3 separate regions of the Homo sapiens genome follow, and regions 1 and 2 are each linked to region 3. The links are contacts of gene promoters, found by promoter capture Hi-C in blood cells and fetal thymus (Javierre and others, 2016). All regions are on one chromosome and are shown on one strand. Each heading gives the region's core, a stretch centred on a gene start or on the middle of the fragment in contact. The rest is flanking DNA. Distances are from core to core; before and after follow the strand shown.

What was found. The method cuts DNA at HindIII sites, captures the fragments that hold promoters and counts their contacts. A CHiCAGO score of 5 or more calls a contact.
Region 1: a fragment that was not itself captured here is called in contact with the fragment with the promoter of TEK in region 3 in 1 of 17 cell types (endothelial precursors); the score reaches 7.1 in endothelial precursors.
Region 2: a contact is called between a fragment that was not itself captured here and the fragment with the promoter of TEK in region 3, in 1 of 17 cell types (endothelial precursors). The highest score is 6.4, in endothelial precursors.

Annotation. Positions count from the first base shown.
Region 1 is chr9:27,146,124-27,148,823 of GRCh38, reverse strand. The region is part of intron 1 of TEK (TEK receptor tyrosine kinase); the gene reads right to left. Among named protein-coding and RNA genes, the nearest start is that of TEK, 38 kb to the right of the region's middle. The HindIII fragment of the contact is 2,940 bases long and covers 1-2,700 here.
Region 2 is chr9:27,162,922-27,165,621 of GRCh38, reverse strand. The region is part of intron 2 of TEK (TEK receptor tyrosine kinase); the gene reads right to left. Among named protein-coding and RNA genes, the nearest start is that of TEK, 55 kb to the right of the region's middle. The HindIII fragment of the contact is 5,735 bases long and covers 1-2,700 here.
Region 3 is chr9:27,107,823-27,110,522 of GRCh38, reverse strand. It overlaps TEK (TEK receptor tyrosine kinase), which reads right to left and starts at 1,298. Exons shown (of 23, transcript NM_000459.5): 1 at 881-1,298. The coding sequence starts at 932. The HindIII fragment of the contact is 9,085 bases long and covers 1-2,700 here.

The sequences.
Region 1 (2,700 bases), core at 61-2,560, 38 kb before region 3:
AGGAGTTAATATGTATAACATATAAAGAAATTTCATAAGTCGTTGAACCAATAGCAATTCACAGAGAAGGAAACACAAACAGCCAGTCGCAGTAGATTCATGAAAAAGTGGTCACAATATTTTGCATTTCATTCCATCAAGAAGTGGAGTTTCTTTCTCCATCTCTTGAATCTAGGCTTGGCCATGGGACTTCTTTTGATCAATGGAGGATTAGCCAATGTGGCATAAGCAGAGGCTTGAAAAGTGCTTGCCCACTGGGCTCTCCCACTGGGCTTGCACTCTTGCTGCTGCTCTATGGAACCCTGAGGCCATCATGAGGAGACGCCAAGACTAACCCGCTAGAGGATGAGAGACCAATCCAGCTTAAGCCAAAGAGTTTCCCAGATGACATACAGAAGCATAAGTCATAATAAATGTTTGCTGTTTTACCATTATGTTTTGGATGCCTTGTTACTCATCAAAAGCTGATATACTCACAACATGTGAAAAGTTGAAAAGATGTTTAACCTGACCACAGATCTCAAAATACAAACTAAAAAGACATCTCATTATTTGCCTATCAAATTGTCAAAGAATGGAGAGGGTCATAATATCTGGTGCTGGCTGTTGAATAGAAACATCTATATTGTTGATGGGCAGTGTAATTAGTAAAACATGTTTACAGGACGTGCTCGCAATATCTACAATAACTGAAAAGTTATATAAAAGCTAACCCTAATTCATCACTTATTATGTCAGGTACTACTCTAAGTGTGTCAACACATAATAACTCAATCCTCATAGCAATCTAGGCAGTAGGTACTATGACTGTTTCCATTTAACAGAAAAGGAGACTATGACAAAGAAAGATTAAATACTTGGTGATTGTTACACAGCTAATTTGTAGCAGAGCTGAGACTGAAATTTAGGTGGACTGGTTTCACTCCATTCTTTCAACAATTAAACTATATTACACCATCTCACGTCAAAAATGTCTAACAATTCAATGAAGTTGTTTTCAACAAATAATACTGGAACACTTGGACATCAATATGCAAAAAAAGAGCCCTAACCTAAAACCACCCATGTATACAAAAATTCACTAAAAATACATCGTGTAAAACATTAAAATACAAAACTTTAGGTATATAGAAGAAAATCTTCATGACACTGGAGTTAGAAAGTGATTGTTAGCTATGACACCAAAAATTAGCTGTCATAGACACCATGAATAAAAAAGAAATTGTTACGCTAAATTTTATTAAGATTTAAAACTTTAGTCTATGGAAGACATTGTTAAGAAAATAAAAGGACAAACCATGAACTGGGAGAAAATATTTGCTAATCACATATCTGGCAAATGACTTGCATCTAGAATGCATAAAAAGCTCTCAAAACTCAACAGTAAGAAAACAACTCAATTTTTTTAAATGAGCAAAAGATTTGAGACACTTCACCAGAGAAAATGTATAGATGGCAAATAAGCACAAAAGATGTTTAATATCATTAAACATTATGGAAATGCTAAGTGAAACCACAATGAGATACTGCTACAAACCTATTAGAACAGATCAAAAAACAAAAAAAGAAGAAAGAAAAAAGAAAACCTGATAATACCCAGTGCTAAAGAGAATGTGTAGGAACTGCAATTCTCATCCATTGATGGAAGTAATTTAAAATGGGTGGTATAGCCACTGTGGAAATTGGTTTAACAATTTCTTATAAAGTTAAACATACACTTACGTATCACCCAACAATCCCACTTGTAGGCATTTACCCTTCAGAAATGAAAATGTACATTCATACAATGAATGTTGGCCGGGCGCAGTGTCTCACGCCTGTAATCCCAGCACTTTGGGAGGCCGAGGCGGGCAGATCACAAGGTCAGGAGATCAAGACCATCCTGGCTAACACGGTGAAACCCCGTCTCTACTAAAAATACAAAAAATTAGCCGGGCGTGGTGGTGGGCACCTGTAGTCCCAGCTACTCGAGAGGCTGAGGCAGGAGAATGGCGTGAACCCGGGAGGCGGAGCTTGCAGTGAGCCGAGGTCACGCCACTGCACTCCAGCCTGGGAGACAGAGCAAGACTCCGTCCCCCCCGCCAAAAAAAAAAAAAAAAAAAATAGAATGTTTATAGCAGCTCTATTTATTCATAATCACCCCAAACTGGAAGCACCCAAATATCCTTCAGTGGATAAATACATAAACAAGCTATAGTATATCCATGCTACTCAACAATGAAAAGAAAAAACCTATTGCTACTTGCAGCAACATGGCATTATGCTGAGTGAAGAAGCTAAAATCATCTTCTACCTACTGTCCGACTGCATTTATATGACATTCTAAGAAAGGCAGGCCTGTAGGGATGAGACCAGATGAGTGGCTGCCAAGGATTAGGGCTGGGAGAAATCTGACTACAAAGGGGCAGCACAAAAAAGATTTTTGGGGTGATGGTACTATTCTGTATCCTGATCGCTGTTCTTAGTGGCAGATACATGAGTGTATGTGTTAAAACTCATAGAGTTGTATACACACAAAAGCCAATTATACTGTATATTAACTTTAACAATTATAATAAAAATGTATCTTTCATATTTACCAGTAAAAATATGCAAAGATATGGCAAGGATATTCATTGCAGCATATAGCCACAAACTGTAAACAATATAAAGTTCATCAACAGAAGCATCTCTAAATAAATAACGGTACATACATGTAAT
Region 2 (2,700 bases), core at 55-2,554, 55 kb before region 3:
ATATTAAGTGATGTAGGCTAAGCCCTGAGGTGCCTAGAAGAGGTCGGTATCCTTCTAATATAAACAGCAACACTGCTGTGCTGACATTTGTGATATGAGCATGAGGGACACTTTTCTCCAGAGCACTAAAATGAGCCAGCCATAAAGGAAGAGCAGACAGGGGACTGGATGGTGAGGGGGGCTGTCTTTGTGGGGCTTCTGCTCACGTTGCCAAGTGCTTCATTTAGACCTCCAAATGCATGCAGCTCTTGCTCTCTGTGGCATGCTCCTGGACTCCTACGAGAATTTTTTTCTGACCATTTCATGCTGTTGTTCCTGTCTATATGGTTTGTTTATATTTTCTGCTCCTTTGTGTGAGAATTGTTTAGCTGACCGTGGGACTTCTCACTCAGTATTGTGTTCTGAAAGGAACCAAGGTTCCCCAGTAGGCTCAATTCCAAGTAGCTTTCCCCCCACCACTCTGTGGCTCTTTATTATTTAGGACTGTGCTTTTTAACCTCCTGTTTTCTTAGGGGCATTATCACACCAGAGTTTCACTGCTGTCCAGAGTTTACCTCTGCATGAATGTCTCTAGGCTGATTGCTCTCTGTTGAGTACTAACGAAGGAAATCCAACATTCATGTTCTACTTTGGGCTTTCTGATGACACAGGAGCCTGGCTTGTATTCAGTACACATATATTGATGTTATGTGACTTGACTAGGCCATAAAAACGATAAATACCTTTTAATAGCACCTACTATGGACCAAGTGCTGTTATAAGCACTTTACACAAATTTAATTGTCAACCTGGGGGCGGTGGCTCATGCTTCTAATCCCAAAATTTTGGGAGGCCAAGGTGGGAGGATCTCTTAAGGCCAGGAGTTTGAGACCAGCCTAGGCAACACAGTGAGACCCCCGCTCCATACAAAAAAAATATTTAAAAATTAGCTAGGTATGGTAGCACATGCTTGTAGTCCCAGCTGTTCAGGAGGATCACTTGAGCTTAAGAAATCAAGACTGTAGGCCAGGCGTAGTTGCTCACGCCTGTAATCCCAGCACTTTGTGAGGCCAAGGTGGGCAGATCACAAGGTCAGGAGATCGACATCATCCTGGCTAACACATTGAAACTCCATCTCTACTAAAAATACAAAAAATTAGCCGGGCGTGGTAGCGGGCGCCTGTAGTCCCAGCTACTCAGGAGGCTTAGGCAGGAGAATGGCGTGAACCCAGGAGGCGGAGCTTGCAGTGAGCTGAGATTGCGCCACTGCACTCCAGCCTCAGTGACAGAGTGAGACTCCATCTCAAAAAAAAAAAAAAAATCAAGACTGTAATGAGCTACTGCACTCCAGCCTGGGCAACAGAGCGAGACTCCAACTAAATAAAAATTACTTTTTATAATATCCCTATGAGATAGGTACTACAATTATCCTAATTTTACAGATGAGGAAATTAAGGTACAGAGAAGCTAGGTAACCTGTCCAAGATCACACAGCATATACATGGGAGAGCCAGGATTTGAACCAAGGAATCTCGCTCTGGATGCTTTCATAGATTATGTAATGTTAGCACTCAGAAGGCTTTAAGGTCCAACCACCTCATTTTAAATTTGATACTGCTGAGGCCTAGGTTGGAAGATAACTTGCTTAAGATCATTTGGATGGGCTAATTCATGGGCAGAACTTAACTAAAAATATAATTCCTTATTCCATAAGGTCTGGAGAAGAAAGTAGGTGGTAGTAAAAGTTATACACAAGTGAAAACACAGATGAAAAACAAGTGAGCTCAATTTCAGTCATCTCCTTTCAATTTAATTGTTGTGTAAGTACTACAGGAAATAATGTAGTTTCATATCTGTGATTATTTTGTGCAATTTCACCACAGTCCTGTGAAGACAGTATAGCTACAGTTTATCCATATGGGAGATGGAGTTAAGGAAGACTAAGTCCCTTACCCAAGGCCTATCAACAGTGAATAAATGTGGAAGTTGAGACACAAACTCAAGACCTCCACCCCTAGTTCTCCAGACTTATCATTCTCCAGGTCCACATCCTTAGCTCTCAATTCCAGCCACTTTGAACTGTATTCAGTTCCTCAGCCAGATCTCATCACTCATGTCCAAGTCATGAGTTTTCTTTCTTCTTTTCTCCTCCTTTTCTCCTCAGCCTCACCAGCTCCTGCTCATTCATCAGTTTCCATTTAGGAATTTTCAGAGACCTCACACAACACCTGGAACACAGGTTAGATGCCCTCATAGCTACTCCCTAAATACCCTGCATTTTTTCATTATAGCCCCACTCATGGTATATATCCCCTACTAGATTGGGTGTTCCAGGAGGGCAAGATCACATCTGTTTTGAAAGGTAGCACAGGGTGATGGTTAAAGCCAGGCTTCTAGAATCGGGCCTGACTTCACCTTCCCAGATCCAACACTCACTAGCTAGTAAATGCACGTTAAGTTACAATAGCCAAGCCTCATCTATTATTAGTGGGGTCTTAAAAGTCCTCATCTGATATATATTTGATAAAGACTAAGTTAGTAATACATATGAAGTTGCTAGGGGAATGTCAGGCATACAAGTATTCAGGAAAACATGTGGCAAAAATAGAGGCTCAAGAATAATTGTGGTGGCTGGGCGCACTGGCTCACGCCTGTAATCCCAGCACTTTAGGAGGCTGAGGTGGGTGGATCACAAGGTCGGGAGATGGAGACCACCCCGGC
Region 3 (2,700 bases), core at 49-2,548:
AAGGGGAGAGACTGATGGCAATGATAAATGTATTTGTGATATGTAGTTCAGGTTTGGATACTGCCTTCTACCTATGTCACATAGGCTGAGTGAGCTACAGAGGCACACCACTATCTGGAGTATCTAAGCAATAAACACGCTGAACCCAACACACTGGCCAACCACTCCTTCACTCTACAACAGGCTTCATATACTCTCCTGTGTTAAAGATTTTGGTAACTGCCTAAATTTTTGTTTCATTGGGCCAGTAAACCCTTTATGAATTACTACATGGCAAACATTTTTTAAAATAAAACAAAAATTCTAATAGCCCCAATCTCCCTGACCCTAACTACAAGAAAAAAAAAAAAGCCTACAATTTCATTGCTTTGCTTAAAATAGGATGTAGATATAAAATCTTTTTACAGAAAAGCATCTTTGTTCCCTTTTAACAGTGACAATCTATACACTGCCTTAATTGGGCCCCTGTATTTCTCAGCATGAATTTCATTTTTTACTGAAGATTTTCTTTAAAGCAGGTAAAACCGGTTTGTTCTTTAAAAAAAAAATCAATAAGAAAAACACTCCAGAATGAGGAGCAGGAAAATAATGCATGATAGTAAGGGGATCTCTTCAAATAAGATGATTTAATCGGTCCTCAAAGAGTTTCTAACACAGGGGCCAATCACCCAGAAGACAAACTAGCAAAATCAGTTCATGCCACAGAGCCTTTGCATTTCAATCCTTCCACACATATTGACTGGAGACTCACAGAGAAATGGTGCCTTTGCTACAGCCACCCCTTGTTCATCAGCACTGATGAGATTTGGGGAGAGCACCCAGAAATCACTAACTCTGTTTTTTAAAATACTAAATTAAAAAAAATAAAGCCAAACCTTACCAGAAAGGAGCAAGCTGACTCCACAGAGAACTAAGCTGGCTAAAGAGTCCATGCTTCCCCAAATCTCTCCATCCAGTTTCCACAAATGTGCATGAGGTCCCAAGGATCCTTTCAAAAACCCAGCGGTTTGTGACTTTCCATTAGCATCGTCCTACTACGTCTTGTTTACAAGTTAGAGGCAAGAAGGAACAGCACAGAAGCAGGCTGTAACAGTCTCATTTCTGTCTGAGCACAGGGAGTTTTAAGTTCCTTTTTCCTGTTTCCTTTGTAGATTAGGATGGGAAAGGCTGTATCTTAAAGGCATTTGGTATCAGCAGGGCTGGGGGCACTCAAGCCCTATCCATCTCGCAATTCATCAAAACACTTATCTGTTGCTGTTGCTTCTGCTGCTGCTTTTGCTGCTGCTGTAGGGGCAGAGGAATTTTTGTTGGAAGTGTGGGTCCCGGTCAGCATTTTCAGAAACAATAGGGGTATCCTCTCATAGGCGGGAAACTGAGAATAACAAGCCCTCCACCTATGTATGGTATGCGATGATGACCAATCCTTCTCAGACTTCTAACAGCTCTCCCGGGGCTACTGGGATCTCTGACAGAAGGAGCTTTTGGGTGTGGGAAGCCGTTTTGGCTTTTGTTTTCTCATTTTAACCCACATGGTTTGAATTGGGAGAAGAAGGTTTCCGTGATGAGAAAATACAACCTGAAAAGCAATTAATTTCAGTGAGCACCGGTGAGGTCAATGCTCAATGTAGCCCCAAGAGACCAGAGTCCAAAATTGTTAGCCTGTTTTCTTTCACACAGATGGCCTGTTGGTTGGCCATTAGCCCAAAGATACCCATGTTGCCGGCTATAGCTTTAATTTTCATTAACAATTCATCTAAAGGTGATCAAATTTCTTGAAGAAGTTGGCATAGAAGGATTTTGGTAATGAGAAAGATTTGGTAGTCATTGAGCAATGGTGTTTCAGAAGCAAATTATATATAACATTTAAAAACTAATCTGTGTAAAAACACAAACATACAGGATTAGATTGGGATAAAAATGGTGCTCATGAGAGCAAAGAGAGTTCATGGACCAAAATGAAAATAGCCATGGAATGTACAATATCTAGAATGAGGTCAGAGACCCTACACTTATCCAGATAATTACTCCACAATATGAATTATGACATTAGATTAGAGAGTATACACTTTGCTCATCATCGACCTTCATGCCTGAGGAAATCATTATACTCCTCCTTTTCCTACCCACCAGAGGAAAAGGCAGATGCAGCTAGTCTTGACTAATTTCTGTCCCAGGTTTTATCACATCGATGATGATCTTAAGAACCAATTAATGTTTCCAGTTTGCAGGTGTGAAAAAGCCCAGGTTCTGTCTGCAAACAGAACTGGGTTCAAATACTGGCTCAGCCACATGTGTAGCTGAGAAAAGTTACTTAGTCTTTTTGAGCCTCAGTTTCAACAGCTGTGAAATGGCAAAAATATCTCCTTCCCAGGTGTTTTGAGAGGAATAAATGAGGTTTAAAAATATAAAACCATTTGGTACTATGCCTAGTTCTTTGAAGGTTCTCATTAAATGTTAATAAGTTTATTTTCTTTCATCTTTCCATTCAGTCTCAATTTAAATTCCAAGAGCTTCTACTAAAAAGCTATTTTCTATTCCTATGAGATGACTTTAAATTTGTCATCACGAAAAAAAAAAACAAAAACAGTGGGCCTGGCACAGTGGCTCACGCCTATAATCCCAGCACTTTGGGAGTGGATCACCTGAGGTCAGGAGTTTGAGACCAGCCTGGCCAACATGGCAAAACCCCATCTCTACTAA